Linked DNA regions of Homo sapiens: region 1 is linked to region 2. Evidence: promoter capture Hi-C in 16 types of primary human blood cells and fetal thymus (Javierre and others, 2016). All regions are on one chromosome and are shown on one strand. Each heading gives the region's core, a stretch centred on a gene start or on the middle of the fragment in contact. The rest is flanking DNA. Distances are from core to core; before and after follow the strand shown.

What was found. Contacts are between HindIII fragments. The CHiCAGO score rates a contact against its expected background, and 5 or more counts as called.
Region 1: a fragment that was not itself captured here is called in contact with the fragment with the promoter of PLA2G1B in region 2 in 3 of 17 cell types (total CD8 T cells, naive CD4 T cells and activated CD4 T cells); the score reaches 5.8 in total CD8 T cells.

What each region holds. Positions count from the first base shown.
Region 1 is chr12:120,694,447-120,699,014 of GRCh38, reverse strand. It overlaps MLEC (malectin), which reads right to left. Exons shown (of 5, transcript NM_014730.4): 3 at 4,015-4,191; 4 at 3,863-3,920; 5 at 1-2,699. The coding sequence ends at 2,470. Among named protein-coding and RNA genes, the nearest start is that of MLEC, 9.6 kb to the right of the region's middle. The HindIII fragment of the contact is 1,687 bases long and covers 1,004-2,690 here.
Region 2 is chr12:120,325,676-120,330,579 of GRCh38, reverse strand. It overlaps PLA2G1B (phospholipase A2 group IB), which reads left to right and starts at 2,801. Exons shown (of 4, transcript NM_000928.3): 1 at 2,801-2,860; 2 at 4,560-4,719. The coding sequence starts at 2,827. RefSeq lists an enhancer at 4,845-4,904. The HindIII fragment of the contact is 6,320 bases long and covers 1-3,085 here.

The DNA.
Region 1 (4,568 bases), core at 598-3,097, 370 kb before region 2:
CAGGGAGCTCTTGTTAGCTGGATAGGCTTGGCTCCAGGGGAGTCTACCCCAGCCCCCACCATACTTCTTCCTGTTTCCTCACTTCCCCTTTAGTTTTTGTTAGCCATAGAAAGATGTTCCTTCCTTTCGTTCACAACCAGAGAGGAAAGCGCCCATCCCTAACCCTGAGCTCAGGGGAAAAGGGTGGGCTTGGAAACAGAGGCAGAAGCAAAGCTGCTTGGCTTACAGTACCATTAGGAAATGGCCCCAGGAGTCAGGGTTTCCTTCTGAGACTCTGAGTCACTGAAGGGATGTGTTGAGGTGGAAGGCGGGACCCCCTCCTTCCTCAGACAGACCCAGGCAAACTAACAAACAAGGCAAAATGGAGGCAGCCAGTCCTCCTCCTTCATCTTGACTAACCCAATGGCAGTGGCCCAGGGCTTTGGGGAATTTCGATGGGATAGGAACCAAAGCTACTGCCAGAAGCCTGTTTAGTTAGGATGTCCACTGCCCCAGGCAGGTGGTCCCCAGGACCAAGGCTACAGTACCTTATCCTTTAGAAGCAGGGGAGCTGTGTGAAGCACTATGGGAAGTATACCTCTGACTGCAGCCTCGGGCCACAACCCTCCAGCTGCCTGACTCAATACCCTAGCACTGAGACCCAAGTCACAGCGAAAACAACAGGCTACAATTCTCAAACGACTAAATGCTGGCCTGGAGTAATCATTAAAGAGCCAAAACCCAGGACATGAGCCCAAGAGCTACCTATTTTGTCACATAAGGAGCAGTTCAAATATACAGAGCTCTTAAAAAACATATCTAATAAAGCAAACTCAAAATTAAACACATTCTAGAAAAGCGGGCCTGGCCTGAGATCCTATATTGACTGCTCCAGCCCAAGCTGAAGCTAATCCTGCTGTCTCCCATCCACAAAATTCCTTCTAGCTTGGCTGGGTCCTCCTTCATTGTTGCCCTAACTGGGAAATGGATGACAATGGCCAGAAAGGAGGGGACCAGGGAAGCTTCATTTCCTATAGAAATTTTTTCAGGGAATTCAAGATCGACACTTAGATGCTAAGGTTAGCTTCAGAGCTGCCAAGGCTCTGGCTGACTGGAATTCTTTCAGTCCCATCACACCAAGAACCTGACTGCTACTTGGATAGAGAAATGAAAGGACAGGGGAAGGAGGGGCATACTATTAAGATCAATAAGAAGCATCGCTGGGCCTATATAGCTAATTAGTCTAGTTCCTTGAAGTAGCTCTAGGCATAAACCAAAACTGGCTGAACTGTGACACACAAGAACATGGGAATAAATGAACATCAGATACCAGACACTCTAAACAGTGGTCAGTCACTTAGTAGGGCTCAAATCTCTGAGGTTGCTCTTAAGCTATGCTAACATAAGCCTTTTCTAATCCAAAGACCAGAAGAGACTTTTAAGGTCAAGTGTTCTGTTGCTGCAGGCTGGAAAGCATCCCTGCCCCCTGGCAGCAAGGCCCTACAAAGGGGCCAGTAAAGAACTGCTGGGTCAGGTCCTCCTGGCTGCTGGCTCAGAGATCCAGGGAGGGAGGTACCAACAAGGTGAGGTGGTAAAGGAGAAGACATTCAAGCAGAGAACCCCAAATCCCCGTGTCTCCTTCCCTTCTTGGCTATAACTTAGTGGGATGGTTGAGAGGGAGAAGAAATTTCAAATGAGCCAGATTAAGGAAACAAACAAACAAACAAAACTGAGAAGAAATCAAGTCCCCAACAGGCACTGAAATCAAAATGATTTGTTGTGGTAACAAGTCAGAGGCGATCTGAGGACCCGACATAACCGAAACGTCTTGGATGCTGGACAGTCTATAACTGGCACATGCCAGGGAGACAAGCAATGACAAAGCTCAAACACTAAAGGTGGGACCATCACTGGATTAATCCAGAAAGGCTTCCAGATAAGGAAGCATTTTCTTTCTTTTTTTTTAATCTCCCTACTTTTTTTTTTAAGTCTTTACCGCACAAATTCTACCCCTTCACACACATTCTTTCAATCCCAGGACGTCTGAAGTCTTATCTAGACATAACTTCAGACCGTACCTAACTCCCAGTGCTGGTCGTCTCAGGTAATAAGATGGCATTTCCCTGCTGTTAATTTCTAACCTAAAAAAAGGAACAGTGACTCCTCTGAGTTCAGAGTCCTTTCCACTAGGTATACAAATGAGGATCCTTGAGCAGGAAGGATCCAGTTTACCCTAAGTATCCTCAAGAGGAAAGAGAAGGCTGGGAGCCAGCCACAAAGAGAGGACGAGGACTGAAGCACGTCTGGGACCAGGTGGTGAATGAGGGCTGCTCTCTACTCGCTCTGCCTCTTTTTGTCTCCTTTAATTGATGTGTGTTTTTTTCTCTTTGTTTTTGTTCATTAATCATTGTGAAAAATACAGAAACCAAAACCAATATGGCTGGTTTCTTTCCCACACCCCTCCACCCTGTTCAGGATAGTCATTTGTTCTCACAACCGGCAGAGGCAGAAGAGGGTTGGAATGAAGACTCCGAAGGCCACCAGGATGGGAAACATGAGGCTGCTGTTGTCCGAGGCATAGGGGTTGGGTGTGCGGGGGCCTGACTGCACCCGGTTCTTATTGGTCTGTTTTTTGAGATTAGACCCTTCATCATATTCTTCTTCTTCTTCTTCCTCTTCTTTCTTCTCCAATCCCGGATGAGGCTGAAGCTTTGGTACATCTAACACAAGGAAGAAAACACTGTTAAGACCCACAGCATTTAAGTAAGAGAGACCCTTAAAAGCAGCAAATAAGCCACAATAAAGAGATTGCTGTGATTGAACCCGGGTCCAGAGAAAAGACCAGAAGTAGCAGAAATAGCCTCTGGTCTACAGAACAGCAGAGTGCTGCAAAAGCTTTAGATTTAACTAGAAAGTAGAAAAAGCCGTGCTCATAGGGAGGTTCACTATCTTACCTTCCTGTTCTACTTTTACAGAGCCCCAAGATAACCAGACTGGACAGGGACAATGATCCAATGCCTAAACTTTAGCCTTTTCAAATCCCTCCTCCTCCCACAAGCCCACATTCCCTTTTGATTCACACAACAACTGAAGAAACGTTGACCCAGAGAGTTCTGGGTTCCCAGCACACACTATCCCTCTGTCCTGCCTCCTCCTCAGGGACTTGAACACAGGTCTGTTTGGTGGTAAGACATTCATCCTCCTAGATGTCATAATATCAGCATTTGGGGGACATCAAGACAACAGGATGAAATCCTCAGTGCATTCAAGATTGAGTTGGGGAAAGGTACAGAGGTGGAATGGGGGAGAAATGTCACAAAGACGCAGCTTTCTCTGCAAAAATCAGCCTGAGATGCTGGCAGCCAGGAGAATCTAAACCCTGAGAAAGAAATATACTCTAAGACTTGATCCCAAGGATAAGGAGACATAAATAAGTGAAGTTTTGTCCCAGTGCAGTCCAGCAATGCTGGAATCTTTCAGAGCATACCAAAAGCCTACAGGACTCCTCCTTTTACCTTTTTTTCCCCTAGGAAAGAGATGTCAAACAAACAGAATAAGGACAAGTTTTAGGTGATCCCAAATGACTACAAAGGTCAGGGTACACCAATAGGTACCATTATTAATCCCAATTTATAGGGAAATTAAAAGCATCCATCCAAGACAAACATCTGATTAAATGGCAGCAACAAGATATACATAGACCTGACTCCAAAGCTTGTGGCTAGTACCATGTTATGCTTCATCCTTATCCAACTGATTCTGAATCCCCTACAATTTAGCTTTAAGTGTTTCCAAAATAGTCATCAGCTCAATTACCTCCCAAGGGCTTCCTCAACCATATCCCTCCACTCAAGTCAAAAAAGCAGGTCAGAACACAACCTACCATCCACTGTCCCAGCCATGATGTAGAGTGCACAGACCTTGGGATTGTCATAGTACCCCTAGGAAAAGGGAAACAGTGGTCAACCCCACACAGCAGCAAACAACTTCCCCTGTACCCACTCTCTTCAGCAATGGGCAGAATAGGGGAATTACCTTGACAAACTCAATGTAGAGTTTCCCTGTGAAGGTGGACACCTCCCCCTGGACACTCAGCTTCCCCTTTCTGATGCTCATAGGTATAATTTCATCGTGAGCTGTGCTATGCCCAACACGATCAAAGATATCCAAGTCCTTCACCACGACGTGGCCATTCAATCGTACATCAAATACCTTCCAGGATAAGAAAAGAAAACAATGTCAAAACCATCAGCTTTACATCCTTTCAAGCAGTTGGACATCATGCACGTGTTTGGGCTTGAAGTTCAAAAATAATTTAAGAAATGATGGGTCTGGATATCCAGGGTGGTTAGCATCCTTAACCCGGGTCAAATCAAAGCCGTGTTCCTTCACTGCCCAGGAGTTCTTATATTGGCTTTAAGGAACAAAGAATACAAACAAAAAGCTTAGCATAGGAAGAAGGAAATTCACAGGAAGGGACAGAGGAAAAATAAGGCTAAAAACAAGAAGGTGCGGCAAACCATGGAGGGAAGTAGCCAGGAGGGCCTTAACAGGATCAGTTAGTTGGCAAAACAAGGATTCTGGCATTG
Region 2 (4,904 bases), core at 1,552-4,051:
ACACACACCCACACACACACACACACAAATTCCAAGAGAGGGTCATCCTGACCAATACTCCTCAAAACTATCAAGGTTGCTGGGCACAGTGGCTCACGCCTGTGATCCCAATGCTTTGGGAGGCTTAGATGGGAGGATCACTTGAGGCCAGGAGTTCAAGACCAGCCTGGGCAACATAGGGAGACGCCGTGTCTCCAAAAATTTTTTTGAGACAGAGTCTCGCTGTGTCGCCCAGGCCGGAGTACAGTGGCGTGATCTCGGCTCACTGCAAACTCTGCCTCCTGGGTTCACGCCATTCTTCTGCCTCAGCCTCCCAAGTTGCTGAGATTACAGGCACCCGCCACCATGCCCAGCTTATTTTTTGTATCTTTAGTAGAGACAAGGTTTCACTGTGTTAGCCAGGATGGTCTCCATCACCTGACCTCGTGATCCGCCTGCCTCGGTCTCCCCAAGTGCTGGGATTACAGGTATGAGCCACCGTGCCTGGCCCAAAAAATTTTTTTAAATTAGCCAGGTGTGGTGACACATGTCTGTAGTCCCCACTAATCGGGAGGCTAAGGTGGGAGGATTGCTTGAGCCCAGGAGGTTGAGGCTGCAGTGAACTATGATCGTGTCACTGCACATCAGTCTGGGAAACAGAGCGACACTTTGTCTCAAAAAAAAAAAACAGATAAATAAATTAAATAACCAGGCCCTCCTTATCCCACAGGGTTGTTGTAGAGGTGACATAGGAACAGAAGAGCACCAAGTTAACCAATTATAAATCTATATAGAGAGAAGCAGATCAGAGGCCAGGCACAGTGGCTCATGCCTATAATCCCAGCATTTTGGGAGGCTGAGGAGTGGATCACCTGAGGTCAAGAGTTTGAGACCAGCCTGACCAACATGGTGAAACCTTGTCTCTACTAAAAATACAAAAATTATCCAGGCATGCTGGCAGGCGCCTGTAATTCCCAGCTACACGAGAGGCTGAGGCAGGAGAATCGCTTGAACCTGGGAGGCGGAGGTTGCAGTAAGCCGAGATCGTGCCATTGCACTCCAGCCTGGGCGACAAGAGCGAAACTCTGTCTCAAAAAAAAAAGAGAGAGAGAGAGAGAAGCAGATTAGCAGTTACCAGGGGCTGAGGGAGTGTGACTGCTAATGGGTACAGGGTTTCCTTCTGGAGTGATAAAAATGTTCTGGAACCCCATAGAGGTGATGGTTGCACAACACTGTGAAGGTACTAAATGCCCCCGAATTGTTTACTTAAACGTGGTTAATGTTATGTGAATTTCAGCTAAACAATGTTATGTAGATATTTGGCCGGGCGCGGTGGCTCACGCCTGTAATCCCAGCATTTTGGGAGGCCGAGGCAGGTGGATCACGAGGTCAGGAGATCGAGACCATCCTGGCTAATGCGGTGAAACCCCATCTCTACTAAAAATACAAAAAAAAAAATTAACCGGGCGTGGTGGTGGGTGCCTGTAGTCCCAGCTACTTGGGAGGCTGAGGCAGGAGAATGGCATGAACCTGGGAGGCAGAGCTTGCAGTGAGCCAAGATCGCGCCATTGCACTCCAGCCTAGGCAACAGAGCAAGACTCCGTCTCAAAAAATATATATAAATAAATAGATATGTGATGTGACAGGTTTTTTTTTGAGATGGAGTTTTGCTCTTGTTCCCTAGGCTGGAGTGCAATGGCGTGATCTCAGCTCACCGCAACCTCCGCCTCCAGGGTTCAAGCCATTCTCCTGCCTCGGCCTCCGGAGTAGCTGGGATTACAGGCATAAGCCACCATGCCTGGCTAATTTTGTGTTTTTAGTAGAGACAGGGTTATTCCATGTTGGTCAGGCTGGTCTCGAACTCTCCACCTCAGGTGATCTGCCAGCCTCAGCCTCCCAAAGTGCTGGGATTACAGGCATGAGCCACCGTGCCTGGCCTCTGATATGACAGTTCTAATGCCCTTTAGTATTCTATAATTCAGACTCAGGCCTTTGGAATCCAAAGCCCAGGTTTTTCTCACAAACCCACACTGCAGAGCGGAGTGGTGGAAAAAAATAAAACCTCTGCCTTGGAATCAGACAGATCTAAACTGGAGCCCTATTTTGTCATTTGCCAACTGTGTGACCTTGGGCAAGTTACCGCAACTCTCTGAACCTGTCTCTTTATCTGCAAGGTGCACGACTGATGGGACTATTCAACCAGACCCAGTGCACAGATTCAGGCACTTGATAAGACATTGAGGCTGCAGGCAGCGATCTTTTTTCTTTCTTTCTTTTTTTTTTTTTTTTTTTGAAATAGGGTCTCACTCTGCTGCAGAGGCTCAATCACTGTTCATTGCAGCCTTGACCTCCCTGGCTCAAGAGATCCTCCCATCTCAGCCTCCTGAGTTGCTGGGATCACAGGTGCAATCCACCACCACACCTGGTTAACATTTTTTTTTTTAGAGATGAGGTCTCTCTATGTTGCCCAGGCTGCACTTCCTTCTTGTCTCCCTTATCCCAGCGTCCGACTGAACTGACGGCTTTGCTTTCCCCAACCAGCCCGTGAAGCTGGGCTGAGTACAAAGTGGTGGGTATGAGGGTCAAGATTGTAAGATCTGAAAACTCCAGAAACCATCCCTTTGGTTAACAGTTGCTAAGGACAAATGCATAACATATTTTCCAGTGATCCCATGCTGGCAAATCGTCAGGGTCATTCCTGCAACAGACAGATTCAAGGCCAGCCCCAAACTCAGCCAAGAGCAAAGCAAACACTCCAGCCTTATCTGGGCAGGGTTGTGTGGAGACTGACTATAAGACTATACCTGAGACTGGTCATCTCAGTTCTTTTCTCACCTTGACTGCAAGATGAAACTCCTTGTGCTAGCTGTGCTGCTCACAGGTAGGCAAGTCTCCCCGGCTCCACCCGCCTTTCTCTCCCAAGTGAGCTAAGATCTCACTCCTCTGGAATGGGGGCCACAGGCCACAGCAAACAGGGATGGCCAGCCCCGCAGTCTCAATTCGAGGTTCCCAGTGGGGCTTAAGGGCTCCTCTATTGGGGTTCCCTCAAGGCTGGCACTTTTTCAACCTGCAAGTCTGAACTCAGATTGCCTGAGCTAAGAAAGCTTGCCTTTATTTTCTTTTTTCCAGACAGGGTCTTGCTCTATCACCCAGGCTGGAGTTCAGTGGCATGATCATAGCTCACCACAGCTTCCAACTCGTGGGCTCAAGTGATCCTCCCACCTTACTCAACTAAGTAGTTAGGCCAATCTCCCATTTATTTTATTTTATTTTAATTTTTATTTTTATTTTACTTTATTTTATTTTTGAGACGGGGCTCACTCTGTCGCCCAGGCTGGAGTGCGGTGGCGTGATCTCAGATCACTACAACCTCCATCTCCTGGGTTCAAATAATTCTCTTGCCTCAGCCTCTCAAGTAGCTGGGACTTGTAGCTCTCAAGTAGCTGGCACACACCACCATGCCCAGCTAATTTTTTGTGTGTTTTTTTTGGTAGAGACAGGTTTTCACCATGTTGGCCAGGCTGGGTGACCTCCCTTTTAGATTCTCCTCATCCTGCTCTATTCTTCCCCTTTCTAATGCAGTATCCAGTTTCCTTACTTATCACATTTATTATTATTCTTATTATTATTGAGACAGAGTCTTGCTTTGTCGCCAAGGCTGGAGTACAGTGGTGCGATCTCGGCTCACTGCAAGCTCCACCTGCTGGGTTCACGCCATTCTCCCGCCTCAGCCTCCCCAGTAGCTGGGACTAAAGGCGCCTGCCACCACGCCCCGCTAATTTTTTTGTATTTTTAATAAAGACGGGGTTTCATCGTGTTAGCCAGGATGGTCTCGATCTCATGACCTTGTGATCCGCCTGCCTCGGCCTCCCAAAGTGCTGGGATTACAGGCATGAGCCACCGTGCCCGGCCTTATCACATTTATTATTTATTGTTTTTCTCTCCCACTAGGTTGTAAGCTCCATGAGGTTAGAGATTATTATTATTATTATTATTATTATTATTATTATTATTATTATTATATCTGTTCACTGCTGTATCTCTAGCTCCTAGGACAGAGCCTGGCACATAGTAAGTGCTCAATAAATATTCACTGGATAAACAGTGCAGATAGTTTAAAACTATCTGACCTAGGGAGGCTGAGGCAGGAGAATGGCGTGAACCCGGGAAGCAGAGTTTGCAGTGAGCTGAAATCGTGTCACTGCACTCCAACCTGGGCAACAGAGCAAGACTCCATCTCAAAAAAAAAAAAAAAACTATCAGGCCTAGCTGGGTGGCACATGCCTGTAATCCTAGCTGAGGCGGTAGGGTCCCAGAAGAAGAAGAAGAAGAAAAAGAAGAAGATATATATATATATACACACACACAAAGATATAAACTTTATATATATAAAGTTTTCATTAAAAAAAAAAAAAAACCTCTACCCACTTTCACTTTACCAGGTTCCTGGGTCCAACGGTCTTCAGAGGAGGCAGCTGGCAGGGGTCAGGGAGGCAGCGTGGGACCCGAGGGAGCAGGAAGGCAGTGTGTCCCCGGGGTGCTGGCAGACCGATTTGAACTCTGGCTATGTCTTCTTGCAGTGGCCGCCGCCGACAGCGGCATCAGCCCTCGGGCCGTGTGGCAGTTCCGCAAAATGATCAAGTGCGTGATCCCGGGGAGTGACCCCTTCTTGGAATACAACAACTACGGCTGCTACTGTGGCTTGGGGGGCTCAGGCACCCCCGTGGATGAACTGGACAAGTAAGTGATCCGCCTGCAGGAAAATTGGAGTGCCTGCCGGGGGCGGGGTGGGGCACACGCCAAGGATCTCACGAGGCATACAAAGGGGACTTGCATATCTGCTAAGGATAACATATTTTCACCTCTTGTCAAATAAACAAATATGTTCCAAGAGGACCCTGTAGCGAACGCACCCCGTTAGAGAT